Regions from separate parts of the Homo sapiens genome. Here regions 1 and 3 are each linked to region 2. The links are contacts of gene promoters, found by promoter capture Hi-C in blood cells and fetal thymus (Javierre and others, 2016). All regions are on one chromosome and are shown on one strand. Each heading gives the region's core, a stretch centred on a gene start or on the middle of the fragment in contact. The rest is flanking DNA. Distances are from core to core; before and after follow the strand shown.

Region 1 (4,707 bases), core at 640-3,139, 1.6 Mb before region 2:
CTCATCCTTTCCTGATCTTTGATACTGAGACTGCTATAAAAAGGACAATGGATGCTAAAGATAACACGTGAAGTAGGTTTGTTAGACCTTTTTTTTGACCCTTGGTATCTTCAGCTTTCTGAAGGCCAGGTAATGTCTGCATTCTGAATATGTTAGGGGACATATGAATCCATAGGACATATTTTAAGCAGAATTGTATCATTGTTTCCCTTGTTGCTATTTTACTTTCCCAAACCATTGCAGAGCTTTTTGCCAATGACATTTTCTCATCCGCAGCCAGCTCTGCCACTCTTTTGCTATTTCTTCTGTCGACTTCCATTTTAATTTAAAAAATAAATTTATAATTTTTTTAGTTCTGTTTTGTCAATGTATACCTGCAGCCGCACACACATTTGATTATAGCTGCATAGTGTGGAAAATCTTGCAATTAGATTCCAAAATGACAGCCGGTGTAATTTACAAAGTACAAAAGTGTTATGTTAAAGCACTCTCAGCAATAAATAAAAATAGCTTTTTTGGAGGAGGAAATAACTTTGGAGAGAACTAGGCTGGAGGAGGAAGCAATCTACACTCTTAGGAAAGGAAGAGCCACATCTAGGAAAGCATCCGAGGGACAAGGACAACAGAAACACAAGAGGCTCTTGATCTCAGGCAGTCCTCCAAGAGGCACCTGACAGAGGGCAGTTAGGTTGCCTTGATTTGCCAGTTTCTGTCCTGAAAGATACACTGGACCTTTATTTCCCAAGGACTACTCATTCAGCATTGTTGAGCACCTAAATTGTGCTGGAGATCGCACAGGAACTGGGCTTGCGAAAATGAAAATTGCACACAGTTCCTGTCTTCAGGCGCTCACAGAGTTTTTAAAACAGAACATCTTAAGAGGGAGTTATAAGGGGCCCTGTTGCAAAAAGAGAGCAGCAACTAAAATCTTGGAAAAGCCCTCAGGACACCACAGAGGAAGCAAGCTGTGATCACAGAACTTTGAAAGGCTTTTGTATCTTTCGACAATAAATGATCAAGTGAAGTAAATACATTGTCCAGAAGAGAAAGAATTGGGATGGAGGATGAGATTTTATATGGAAGGATTAAAACATATTTAACTGGAGCAGGGACTTACAGGGACAGGCAAGTCAGTAAAGGGCCCAGGTTACAAACGAGTTATAACCGATCAGACCGACGAGCGCCCGCGTGCAGCGCCTCCTGCCGACGCGCGCCTCGCAGCCTTCAGTCAATGCTGACAGCTGTTCTCCAACACCCAGCTAGGGGCGGGAGGGTCCGCCCACTTCTACCAGATTTTGCACACAAAACAGTGGAAAGACCATTCTCATGGCTCCAAGCCGTTTTCTCCCTTCATCGCCTGCAATTTTAGGGCTTTTCGGGGGGTATGACTGCAGGGATTTTAGAGGTTTTTTTCCTCATTCTCTTTTTAAGAGGTGATAAAAAGCATTTAAATTAGCGGCAGGGCGGTTAACACCCGCAGCCCTAGCCTCTCCGCACTTCTCGTCGCTCGTCCGTGTTCACTCCACGCCTGGCCTCGGGTAGGAGCCGCATAGCGCCAACGGTTGCGGGTCGCAACTACTCCCAGGCGGCGCGCCTTGCGCGCCGGGCCTCCCAGGACCGCGGCGAGTTCAGAAGGCGCGGGGAGAGAAGTGAGGTCGAGCAGCGGGCGGCTTTTGACGAACGGCCCTCACAGCCAATGGGAAGCCCGGTCGACTTTCCCGCCCCTGCCAATAGGGAGCAGAACCCGGGCCGGGGGGGGCGCTTCCCGCAGGCTGCGGCTGGATTCGATCCTGCGCGACGGCCGCGAAGGCGGGGGCGGAGGCTCGGCCTGCGCGGCTGGGAGCGGCTTAGGGGAGGAGGGAAGACCGGAAGCCACGGTTGCGTCCCCATCCTTAGATTCGCTCCTCCGGGCAGGGAGCGGAGACGGAGGAGGAGGAGGGAGAGGCTGAATGTTGGCTCGGTAATTGAGAGGAGCGGCCGCTCCAGAGCTTCCTCCCGGGGCGCCCCCCTCAGTCCGTCCGCGCTTCTCAGCCGCCAGTCTCCTGGCCGCGCAGTCCCCGCGGACGGCCGGGCCGCGGAGACCCTCGCAGAAGAGGCGCTGCCGGCGGCGAGGACTGGCCGGCGGCATCCGAGGCGCGCGCCCCACCGCCACCCCCACCCGCCTGCCAGCCGGTCCCTCCGGCCGCCGCCATGTCCTCCTCCTCTTCCTCCCCCAGGGAGACGTACGAGGAGGACCGGGAGTACGAGAGCCAGGCCAAGCGTCTCAAGACCGAGGAGGGGGAGATCGACTACTCGGCCGAGGAAGGCGAGAACCGCCGGGAAGCGACGCCCCGGGGCGGGGGCGATGGCGGCGGCGGCGGCCGGAGCTTCTCTCAGCCGGTAACAAAGCGCGGCCCCCCTGTCCGCTGTGCCTGGCTGCTCCCCGGGAAGCAGGGCCTCGGTGCGGGGCCTCCCGCTTGCTTCAGTTAGCCTTTTCCGCTGCGCCGACCCGTTTGGGGAAGCGCCCACTCTTCTCTTTGGGGCTCGTATTCTGGCCTCTACCTGTTTCCCGCATCCCGACTGCGAACCCGGCGCCGTCCTGGCCGCAGGCCCCGCAGCGAGTCCACTGCCGGGCCCTGAACTTGGGGAGGGTCGCGGCGCGGCGGCGGCGGCGGGGAGGCGTCGCTTCCGCTCTGGGGGGTTTCGCGGCTCGGGGAGCTCTTTGTTAGTTTAACTCCTCGGGCTCGGGGCCAGCGTCGGGACCACCGGTTCTCTTCAGTCCCTCTGCCCGCAGCAGCCGCGCGTTGGTCACCATCCCGGGATGGTTGCGTCGGTTCTACCGGGAGCTCTCTCCGCCTCGGTCCTATGGAGACCCGTAATTAAATAACAGATTATGCCTTGGCGTTCACATGCTAGTTCCCTTGAAGGTTTAATTTAAAAAATTTTAAAATTAAACTCTTTATAAGCATGGCGTGCATCCTTTGCTCTACCCAATTTTGTGGATTACTCAGTACACTTTTTACCTCTTCGGTTACAACACTTCAACAGAAGTGTTGGCAGCTGTTGGTACACCCCTACCTTCAAGTAAAACAAATCTTAAAATTACTAAAGTTTTTCATTGGTAATTTATTCCACATTTGCCCCATGAAAGGATGAAGTGAGCTCAGGGTTGCATTAAACACACATTCCTAGAGCCAGGTCTTTCTCTTACCAGAAATGTTAGGGGGAGGCAGAAGGAATGTGATCATTTTGTCCACAGCAAGTAGTTAGCTTCAGTTGGATGGAGACTTTAAGGAAACAAAGCGGAGCAAACGTTATTGCCCTTTTTTGGTGCACTTAAGCGGTTTTAATGACTTAGATGTTATTTAAACATTTAACACATGAATTGTGATTAATTCTGCAAACTTTAACAGAATTACGAAACTGTACACATATATCCTACTATTAGGTTAAAAGGGTTTTTACCTTACCTTTTAAAAATAAGACGCACATTAGAAGCCCTTTATAGCCGTTTGAATTTTTAAATAATAAAAAAAAAGGCTGGTCAGTCACCCAGCGTTGCAGTTTCCAGTTACCAGGATGTGAGAGCAAACTTTGCAACACATTTAAAAAAGGAACTTTTTCTCTCAGTCTTGTTACGGTGTTAGCTATTACTTTAGATTTTTGTGCCGAGCTATTTGAAATATTCAAAATGTAACTTGGAAGTGTGAATAAAGGAAATGGTTTTTTCTTAGGAAGTTTCAGTTCAAAGCCAACTCTGTTGTGGAAATTGGAAACAGGAATATTATAACTGATATTTCGATGTATTCGATCAGTGTACCTCGTTGCTAGAAATCTTGCTTGGGTTTTTGTGCAGCATCATGAAATGTCTTCAGGCATTTTGGAAAGATACTTAAATCAGATTATAAAAATTTGTTTTTGAAAACAGATAAAGCATTAAATCAATAGTATTATTTTGGATGTTGGGAAGAAAATAACATATAATTAATGTATCCAAAGCGAAATGTGTGGAGCGGTGGAAATGGCACTGAGTAGGGCTTGGGGGTGGTCAAGAGTCTAGGCTTAGCATACAATTTTTTTTTTTTTTTGAGAGGATCTCACTCTATGGCCCGGGGCTGGAGTGCAGCAGCTCTGGAGTGCAGCAGCTCGTGATCACGGCTCACTGCAGCCTTGATCTCCCTGTCTCAAGCGATCCTCCTACCTCAGCCTCCCGGGTTGCTGGGACTGGAAGCCTGCATCACCACGCCGGGCCAATTTTTTTTTTCTGTGTTTTGTAGAGAAGGGGTTTCACCATATTGCCAAAGCTAGTCTCTTAACTCCTGGGCTCAAGAGATCCACCTGAGTTGGCCTCCCAAAGTGCTGGGATTACAGCCGTGAGCCACCGCACCTGGTCTTAGCATACAATTTGTGTGAGTCTGAGAAAGTCAGTTTACTACTCTGAGTTCTCTTAGTCTGTAAAATATGAAGGTTGAAACACATGCCTTTTTTAACCGAAGCTATAGTTAAGTGATTAACGTAATGCTAATGCTGCTTTTAAGTTACCCCGGCGGGAACTGATATAAGCAGATTGAGGTATAAATTTTAATTTTTTTGTTTATCTTACTGCTGATATGTTTCCTAGGAAAGGGTGAATTGTTTTCATTTAACAGTAAAACCATCATTGTACTATGAAATCTAATGAAGCCTTGTTTATCTTGTTTTTAAATATTTTTCATGTAATTTTTGGTA
Region 2 (4,711 bases), core at 1,875-4,374:
GAATGAGAAAGGAGAGAACAATGATTGAGCCCCTAGAATTTACCAGGGACTGTTTCTTTTACATATATTGTTTCAGTTACTCTTGTGAACTGTATTGCAATAATAGCTATCACTATTCCGTAATATACCATATAGTAGGCACTATGAGAGGGGATTTACTTTTTTTCTTCCATTTAACTTCACAGCAACTTTATTAGGTGACTATTATTCCCATATTAAAAAATGAGAGAATTGAGCTGGGATTACAGGCGCAAGCTGCCACGCCCAGCTAATTTTTTTTTGTATTTTAGTAGAGATGGGGTTTCTCAGTGTTGCCCAGACTGGTCTTGAACTCCTGAGCTCAGGTAATCCACCCGCCTCGGTCTTCCAAAGTGCTAGGATTGCAGGCATGAGCCACCGTGCCAGGACCAATAAGTGATAATTATGGGATTCATAGTCCTATAGTTTTAAGGCAACTTAGGGCACCAGAACTCTAAGGGAAGGCCTTCTTTTTAAAACTTTTTTTTTTTTTTGAATCACAGTCTCACTGTATTGCCTAGGCTGGAGTGCAGTGTCATGATCTTGGCTCACTGCAACCTCCACCTCCCGGGTTCAAGCGATTATCGTACCTCAGCCTCCCAAGTAGCTGGGACTACAGGCATGTGCCACCACGCCTGGCTAATTTTTGTATTCTTAGTAGAGACGGGTTTTGCCATGTTGGCCAGGCTGTTCTCCAACTGTTACCGGTGGAGAGTGTCCAGGTTGTTGAAATCTTGAACAAAGAATTGGGGAAAGCGCACAAAGCAAGGAAAGAATGAAGCAACAAAAACAGAGATTTGTTGAAAATGAAAGTAGGCTCCACAGTGCAGGGGCAGGCCCGAGCATAGGGGATCAAGAGTCCCGTTACAGAATTTTCTGGGGTTTGAATACCCTCTAGAGGTTTCCACTGGTTACTTGGTGTGCGCCCTATGTAAATGAAGAGGATGAAGTAAAGTTACAACGTCATTTAGTTGGTGTGCGCCCTATGTAAGTGGAGAGGACATTTCCTGTTATAGCTGAAGTATTTCCATTTGATTCAGTTCTAGGTAGTCAGCCTGAATCTACTTTACGTTCCCTGCCTCCAGACCCTATTCTCCTGCCTCCTGCCCACAACTCCCAGGCTCCAGTGATCTACCCGCCTCGGCCTCCCAAAGTGCTGGGATTACAGGCGTGAGCCATGGCGCCTGGCCAAAATGTAAATGAGTCCTCGTAAAGCAAAAAAAGTATTGTGAGTAATAAAGTTGAACTACGAATTAAAATAGTTTTTGTATATGTGTGGTAGTCCAGATTATCTATACATTTAATTACATTTTGTGTCTGCTATGAATTGACTTAAAGGAATTGTCGGATATGTCGTCTCACTCAAGGCCTCATTGTTGACAAGTCTCAATTTTTTTGGAATTTAGTTCCTTGAGCTGTAAATGAGAAGACTGGGCTGTATCTCAAAGGACACTGACAGCCAAAATAAGTTATGGCACAGGGAATTTGGCCAGGCCTGGATCAATCTTTGATGATAATAAAGAATGAATTCATAAAGCAGAAACATTAATTAAGCGAGAGAAGAGAGTTCTCCATCTTTATTTGCAACCAGAGCAGACACAATGTGTTTCCTGTCCTTTCTGCAAGTAGCCATGGGAAAGGGGGGGAGGGGAGAGAGGACAGGGACAGGATGTCTTTCCCTGACATGTCACTCAGCAGCCTAGATCTTTACATTTTTTCATGGCCATCAAGTCTGATAACCCACAAGTACGTCCTACAAAACGTAAGAATTTCAGATAACTTGTTAGGGTGACAAAATAAGTGCTTAATTTCATTTGCATTTGTTAAATTGTTTTCAGGGGCCTTCCTTTTTGCCACTGTTGTAGTGTGAATTTATAGTGACATATTGTCAGACTTCGGAGAAGGCAAATATTTACAGAGAGTAACTTGAAAGGACTTTGGTGTACCTTTGGTAGGCGGATGCTGTTGCCAGTTGGCAGGTGAATCGTGAAAGAAACTGGGAACAGGACAAGTGAAAACGGAGAGGGGCCAGGATATCTAAGACCGCGCTAGGGAGCAGAAAGGGAACTTGCTTTTTCAAGGTGGTGTAGCTTTTAAATTAAGCCTTTGTGATATTTGATTATACGCCAATCTTTGATGACAGAAACGATGTCATTTATCTTAATATTCCCAGCGCAAGAGAAAACCGATAATCAAAATATTTGTTCAATTAAGTAGAGTAAAAATCAGCGGGAATAAGATAGGAAAAATGAGACCGAAATAACAGAACATCTATTATTGGATGCTAAAACTTTTACAGGATTTACTGCAGGAGGACTGCAAAGGGAAAGAAACTTCAACGGAGCAGTTTTTCAGATGGGCTGTCAACAAACCACAATTTGGAAGCAGCAGCAGAAAGCTGCGGCGTTGTCTTAGAAAGGTGATCGGCGTTCCTTAGAAATGAAAACTGGTCAGGTAACAGGTTTGAGCCCCTCGAGTCAAAAGAGAAAGGCAAGAGCGACAGCGACCCGCAGATTGGCAGAATGGAGGAGCGTCTAGGGTGAGAGAAACTCCGAACACGAAGCCGAAGCGAGAGCACGCAGGGCAGCTGGCGGGAGAACCCCGGTCCCGCGGCCGCACCGGGTAGCTCGCTTTGAGCCTGTTCCTTCACAGAACGGCCAGGAAGCCTTAAAAGATGTGCAGCTCGGGCAGGTATCTTGGCGTGACAACTTCCGTGTGTGTGTGTGTGTGTGTGTGTGTGTGTTTTTGAATGCAACAGGGTGCGCCGCCCGCGAACTTCCGCGTGCGAGGAAGACTGGAGACCCGCCCGCCCGCGCCCAGCCGGCCCCAGAGGAAACCCGCTCTCCCCGCCCAGCCGGCCCCCTACGCGGCGAGCCGGGGCGGGGCGGGCCCGAGGCCACGCCCAAGCTGAGGCACAGCCCTACAGGCCGCCCGGGCCGCGCTAGCCCGCGCCCCGCCCCGCGACTACATTTCCCGGCAAGCCCCGGGCCGCCAGCGCGCCGCAGTTGACCCATTTCCCGGCCCGTCACGGGCTCGGCCGGCCCCCGCGCCCAGGAGGCTGCTCCCTGCTGACTGGGGTGTGGGCGGGAGCGGCGGAGGGAGGAGGAGGCGCTGCTTGCCGCCGCTGTTGCCTCCGCTGCTGGGCGCCGGGGCAGCTCCCCGGGTATCTGCGGCCGCCATGGACGAGCAGGCGGGTCCCGGCGTCTTCTTCAGCAACAACCACCCGGGCGCCGGCGGTGCCAAGGGGCTCGGGCCTCTGGCGGAGGCTGCCGCGGCCGGCGACGGGGCGGCTGCGGCGGGGGCGGCCCGAGCCCAGTACAGTCTCCCGGGGATCCTGCACTTCCTGCAGCACGAGTGGGCCCGCTTCGAGGTGGAGAGAGCCCAGTGGGAGGTGGAGCGGGCGGAGCTGCAGGTAAAGACCCTCCCGGCCTGGCCGTCTTCATCCCGCCTCTTTGCTCCCTTCCGCCCCGCCCCGGACCCTTCTCCCCCTCCCCCAGCCTTCTCGCGTCCCCTCCCCCTTTGCTGCCGCCCATCCCACCCGGAGCCCCGTCCCCTTCTTCTCTTCGCCTTTTGCCTTTCGCTGACCCCACCTCGACCCTGTTCTCACTCCCGCTCCTGGTGCGTTGTTTACCCTCCCCACGCCTGTTCGTCCGCCCCATCCCACTCTTAACTCCCAGACTCATTTCAACTCTCTGGCCATCCTGCATCTCAGGGCTGCCCTCTCGGTTTACTAATTGGGCTGGCAGTAGTTTTGAGAGACGCGGAGCAAATCGTCCGCTGCCCTGGTGTGCCCCTTCCTAGGTCTAGAGACAGTCTCCGCAGAACGTGCCGGCTTTGGCCCCTCTCTTCAAGGAAGGTGATCAAGAAGACAACAGAAGTTGTGTCAGGCCTTGAGTCGAGGCGAGAAGTTGACGTTGGGCAAAAGTGTTATTCATATATCAGATCCCTTTTTTTATATATGTAAATGTCTGTTCTCCACTTTCTTCCGACCCCCCGGCCCCCTCCCACGTTTCTTTTAGGTATTTCCAATTAATGCATTTTGAATGAAGGACCTAGATGATCGCAGTCAGAGAGAATGGTTAAGAGGTGGTTCCTGTTCTCAGAATCTGAAACTTCCCAAGGGTTAATTTTATGTTCAGTGTTTTGGGAGATTTTCTTGTGCTTTAAAAGGAACTAAAGGGACTTTGAAGTTAGTTACATTGCCTTGCATAATCTGCAAGATAAAGTATATCCAGGGAGGAGATAACTGTGGGCTCTGAAAAGAATGAAAGTGAGGCTGATACTTTACAAGCCATTCAGAATTGGTGAATAGGTTTTCAGTGGTTGTTCTTAAAACTTCCAGGGCATACACACCAATTTCAAAAGGAACTTAAAGAACTATGAATAGTTGTGCCTTTCTGTTTTACGGGCTAAGCCTGTATACTTATGAAATTTGAGTATAGTTTTAGTTGGCAAAACACTTGAGTTTAAAATGCTACCCAGTGTGTCACTTTTTTTGGTAACATGTATTTGGCGCTTAAGAAAAAAAAGAAGAGGAGAAATCTGTTAAATAGAATCATGTGCTGGAACAGGCTCTGGTGTAGTGGAAGTGGCTGTGGAAAGAGCGAACACACAAGGCTGTAGTAGACAAGGTTATAGTAAGGGCTGTGTTTGTTGCTAGCTCTGTGACCTTGAGGAAATCCTTTAACCTCTC
Region 3 (4,835 bases), core at 463-2,962, 1.4 Mb before region 2:
TTTCTCTTTCCTTCTCTTTCTTCCTTCCTTCCTTCCTTCCTTCCTTCCTTCCTTCCTTCCCTCCCTCCCTCCCTCCCTCCCTCCCTCCCTCCCTCTTTCTTTCTTTCTTTCTTTCTTTCTTTCTTTCTTTCTTTCTTTCTTTCTTTCTTTCCTTTCTTTCTTTCTTTCTTTCTTTTCTTTCTTTCTTTCTTTCTTTCTTTCTTCTTTTTTGAGATAGGGTCTCATTGTGTCACCCATGCCGGAGTGCAGTGGCATGATCATGCCTCACAGCAACCTCAACCTCCCTGGCTCAAGTAATTCTTCCACCTCAGCCTCCCGAGTAGCAGGGACTACAGGTGCACACCATCGCACCTGGCTAATTTTTGTGTTTTTTTTGGAGAGATGGGGTTTCTCTATGTTGCCCAGGCTGGTCTTGAACTCCTGGGCTCAAGCAATTAGCCCGCCTTGGCCTCCCAAAGTGCTGGGATTTACAAGCATGAGCCATCACACCCAGACTGAAAGAGAATTTTCTAAGTCACAGACAAATAAAAACTTTATTCACTACACTACAGGAAAAACTGAATTGCCTTTCTATTCTCTCTTCAGAAAATGATATCCCCAAATTGGCATAATATGAAGAGTCAAAGACCATACAGTGAAAAGATCAGAAAAAATGGTTTAGGCTGGGCGAGTTGGCTCATGCTTATAATCCCAGCACTTTGGGAGGCCGAGGTGGGCGGATCACTTGAGGTCAGGAGTTCGAGAGCAGCCTGGCCAACATGGTGAAACCCTGTCTCTACTAAAAATACAAAAATGAGCCGGGCATGGTGGTGCACACCTGTAATCTCAGCTATGTGGGAGGCTGAGGCAGGAGAATCACTTGAACCTGGAAGGGAGAGGTTGCAGTGAGCTGAGATCACACCACTGTACTGCAGCCTGGGCAAAAGAGCTGAGAAGACTCTGTCTCAAACAAAAAAAAAAAAAAGAAAGAAAATGTGGTATTAGAAAGGTATGCTATGAAGTTAATAAATAAAAAAATTATTTTTCTGTATTGTAGTATGTATTAGATAAAATTTGGTATTTTGAGGGGATTTCTTTTCTTATGCTAAATATGCATTTACTTATATAATTTGTTTTAATTCACAATTTGTTTTTTGTGGGGGTTTTTTTGTTTTTTTTTTTCAAGACAGGGTCTCACTCACATTGCCGAGGCTGGGGTGCAGTGGTGCAATGTCGACTCACTGCAGCCTCAACTTCCTGGGCTCAAGTGATCCTCTCACCTCAGCCTCCCAAGTAGCTGGGAATACAGGTGGGCACCACCACACATGGCTAATTTTTTGTATTTTTTTGTAGGGATGGGGTTTTGCCATGTTGCCTGGTTTGGTCTGGAACTCAAGTGATCCACCTGCCTCAGCCTCCCAAAGTGCTGGGATTACAGGCATAAGCCTAGCCTCACAATTTGTTTTCTTAAAGAAATTTCTCAAACTTGTAGAAGCTTCAGGACCCCCAAAATACTAAATCTGTTCCTGATGGGAGCTACATGGCGCATAGTCTCATTTACAGTGGCCACCAATGGATATTGGGGCACACCTATGGAACATGTCCTGTTGGTGAGTGCCATTTGTCATTTGTATCACTGTAAAACAAAACAATGTGAAAAAATTAAGAGCCACTGCTTTAGACAGCAGAAGCAAACAAGTAACTTTAACAGAGAGTGATTAGCACTATCTGAATTCAGAGTTTATTATTGCTCTGTATTTGCTTATGCATTTACCACATATATATGTTTATATATTGGTATGACACCAAGGGTATGTGTTCTGGTTACCAGTTGCTCTATAGCAAATTACAGAGATGAAAGGAAATATTTGGCTGCTCTCCAGTTACAAAACAAAATGTCTTAAAACAACAGTCATTTTATTATGTCTTACTATAGCTCGCCTTCTTGGAGGGTGATCAGGATAAGCTTGAAAGATAAATATTTGCCAGGCCGACCAAGTGGCAGTGGCATTACATGCAATATTTGAGTCTGAGCAAAGAACTGTGGGGAAAATGAAAAGATGGAACTCGTATTCTGAGCATTTATAATTGAAGACAGACCCCAAGAATATTTGGGAAGGGGAGAAATGGTGTGAGTCTAGGAGGAAGTGTTTGAGGTGAGTACAGATTTCACCATCAAAGTATAATAACGAAATGACTCTAGTGGCCGTGAATCCAAGAATTAAATAGGTTACAACATGGACAGTGACTCTAAGGACATTGTCAAGGTGCAGTGTTTCTTCCTACCAACCAGCCAGCCAGTTTTTAGAAGTTAGGAATTTAGCTTGAGTGTGAGTTGGAAAGAAAGATTTGGCTGCTCTCCAGTTACAAGAACAGTATGTTGGCTGTAATAAGGCCTATGTAGATATTGTCTTAATCTTAAAAGAGGCCAAGATATACAGTTCCTTCTATGCAGTCTGGATTTCCCACTGATTTCAAAGGCATTCCTGAGGGCAGGCCAGTTATGAGAAACACATTAGGCGCGGTCCAGACAGGCTGTTCAAAGAGGATACCATTCACCACCCCGTTTTCAGAGGAGCCTAAAGCACACGGCCATGTTCGCTTCAAGCTACAAGCATGTTTTCTGCGTAATGGTGTTTACTTTCACTCCTTTTTTTGTTTTGTTTTTATTTACTTATTTTTTGAGACTGAGTTTAGCTCTTGTTGCCCAGGCTGGAGTGCCATGGCACGATCTCGGCTCTCTGCAACCTCCGCCTCCTGGGTTCAAGCGATTCTTCTGCCTCAGCCTCCCGAGTAGCTGGAATTACAGACATGCGCCACCACGCCCAGCTAATTTTGTATTTTTAGTAGAGATGGAGTTTCTCCATGTTGGTCAGGCCCGTCTCAAACTCCCAACCTCAGGCGATCCGCCCGCCTCGGCCTCCTAAAGTGCTGGGATTACAGGCGTGAGCCACTGCGCCTGGCCACTCCTTCATTTTTATTTTTGAAAATGTACTATAGGATATTATATTGTGCCTAGAGTTCCTGCCAGTGTTCTTTTGTATGCGAATTGTAATTAAAAAACCAGTATCTATCTATTTTTCCAAACATAAACAAGTCCAGTTTCTGGATTTGAACTTTTGTTCCTCCTGCTACTAAATCATTTTAGTAACTGCAAGACACCTATGAACTCTATAGTAGTCAGTCGTTCAAGTAGGAGCTACCAGTTGCATCTAGGACAGTGCCAGTTATCTTGATCATGGGTGCCCTAAATCTGCACCTCATCCTCTCCAGCTATTCAAAACAGTCTTCTGGACATCCAGAAGCTATGCTTCTAGCTATTTAGTTGTCTGTAGAAGGTGATTGTAGAGTTTTCAGTGCCTAGCCACAATGCCAGTGTGTTATCTGAAGATACACGGTTAAGAACATGGGCTCCAGCCTGACCAACATGGTGAAACCCCATCTCTATTGAAAATACAAAAAGTAGCCGGGCGTGGTGGCGCGCACCTGTAATCCCAGCTACTTGGGAACGCTGAGGCAGGGCAATCGCTTGAACCCAGGAGGTGGAGGTTGCAGTGAGCCGAGATCGTGCCATTGCACCCCAGCCTGGGTGTCAAGAGTGAGACCCTGTCTTTTTTTTTTTTGATATGGAGTCTCACACTGTCACCAGGCTGGAGTGCAGTGGTGCAATCTTGGCTCACAGCAACCTCTGCCTCCCAGGTTCAAGTGATTCTCCTGCCTCAGCCTCCCAAGTAACTGGGACTACAGGCACGTGCCACCATGCCCAGCTAATTTTTTGTATTTTTAGTAGAGACGGGGTTTCACCATGTTAGCCAGGGTGGTCTCGATTTCCTGACCTTGTGATGTGCCTGCCTCGGCCTCCCAAAGTGCTGGGATTACAGACATGAGCCACCGCGCCCAGCCTGAGACCCCGTCTTTAAAAAAAAAAAAAAAAAGAACATGGGCTCTCGCCAGTGGTGGTGGCTCATGCCTATAATCCCAGCACTTTGGGAGGCCGAGGCAGGCGGATCACAAGGTCAGGAAATCGAGACCACCCTGGCAACATGGTGAAACCCCATCTCTTCTAAAAATACAAAAAATTAGCTGGGTGTGGTGGCATGCGCCTGTAGTCCCAGCTACTCGGTCTCAAAAAAAAAAAAAAAAAAAAAATAGAACATGGGCTCTCAGAACAGACAGAATTTGGGGGTTCAAATTTTAGCTCTTCAATTTAGTAGTCATATGGCCTTGAAGAAATTAAGTAACATTTTAAAGTCCCCGTTTCTGTAGAATGCTGATGGTGAGGATGATGTCAATAATCCTTGCCTCATCAAAGTATTTTGTAGATTAAATGAAATTATGAACAGGTATTATTACTAATGGTATTCTTGCTCTTTAATCCCTTCTTAGACTTAAAAGAGCTGTTTTATTGGAGCATTAATCATGATGGCTATCATTTATTGCCATGTGCCAGCACTAGGCTAAATACTTTATCTACGTGATCTATGATCATAATGAAACATGCAAGGAAGAGACCTTTACTTTACAGCAGAGGAAACTGAAGGTCAGAGAGGTTAATGATCTTGGTCATAAAACCAAGAGGTAGATAGAGCTGGGGTGCGAACTCAAAGCTGCTGTTCTTTCCACTAAGCCCTACTGATACTCATGTATCCCAGTTTAAGTCATTGCCTCTGCAGAGGAATTCAGCTGGGAAGAATCATTATTTCCCTCTTGCATTAACAAGGGACAGCCATCTATCCCTTGCTCTAGAAAAAAAAGGAACACCTAATATTAAGCAGTAAACCCAGGCAGAAACCCATCTACTCACAGTGTTTCATATGGGGCTAATACATGCCTTTGAAGATGCCTGCAAGTATCAG

The links. Contacts are between HindIII fragments. The CHiCAGO score rates a contact against its expected background, and 5 or more counts as called.
Region 1: a contact is called between the fragment with the promoter of HNRNPLL here and the fragment with the promoter of STRN in region 2, in 1 of 17 cell types (neutrophils). The highest score is 5.7, in neutrophils.
Region 3: a fragment that was not itself captured here is called in contact with the fragment with the promoter of STRN in region 2 in 1 of 17 cell types (monocytes); the score reaches 5.6 in monocytes.

Annotation. Positions count from the first base shown.
Region 1 is chr2:38,600,110-38,604,816 of GRCh38, reverse strand. It overlaps HNRNPLL (heterogeneous nuclear ribonucleoprotein L like), which reads left to right and starts at 1,889. Exons shown (of 13, transcript NM_138394.4): 1 at 1,889-2,379. The coding sequence starts at 2,191. RefSeq lists silencers at 1,710-1,779, 2,000-2,049, 2,070-2,169. The HindIII fragment of the contact is 8,602 bases long and covers 1-4,707 here.
Region 2 is chr2:36,964,949-36,969,659 of GRCh38, reverse strand. It overlaps STRN (striatin), which reads left to right and starts at 3,124. Exons shown (of 18, transcript NM_003162.4): 1 at 3,124-3,430. The coding sequence starts at 3,197. RefSeq lists a silencer at 2,634-3,443. The HindIII fragment of the contact is 8,803 bases long and covers 1-4,711 here.
Region 3 is chr2:38,381,573-38,386,407 of GRCh38, reverse strand. No RefSeq gene overlaps it. Among named protein-coding and RNA genes, the nearest start is that of ATL2, 6.7 kb to the right of the region's middle. The HindIII fragment of the contact is 471 bases long and covers 1,477-1,947 here.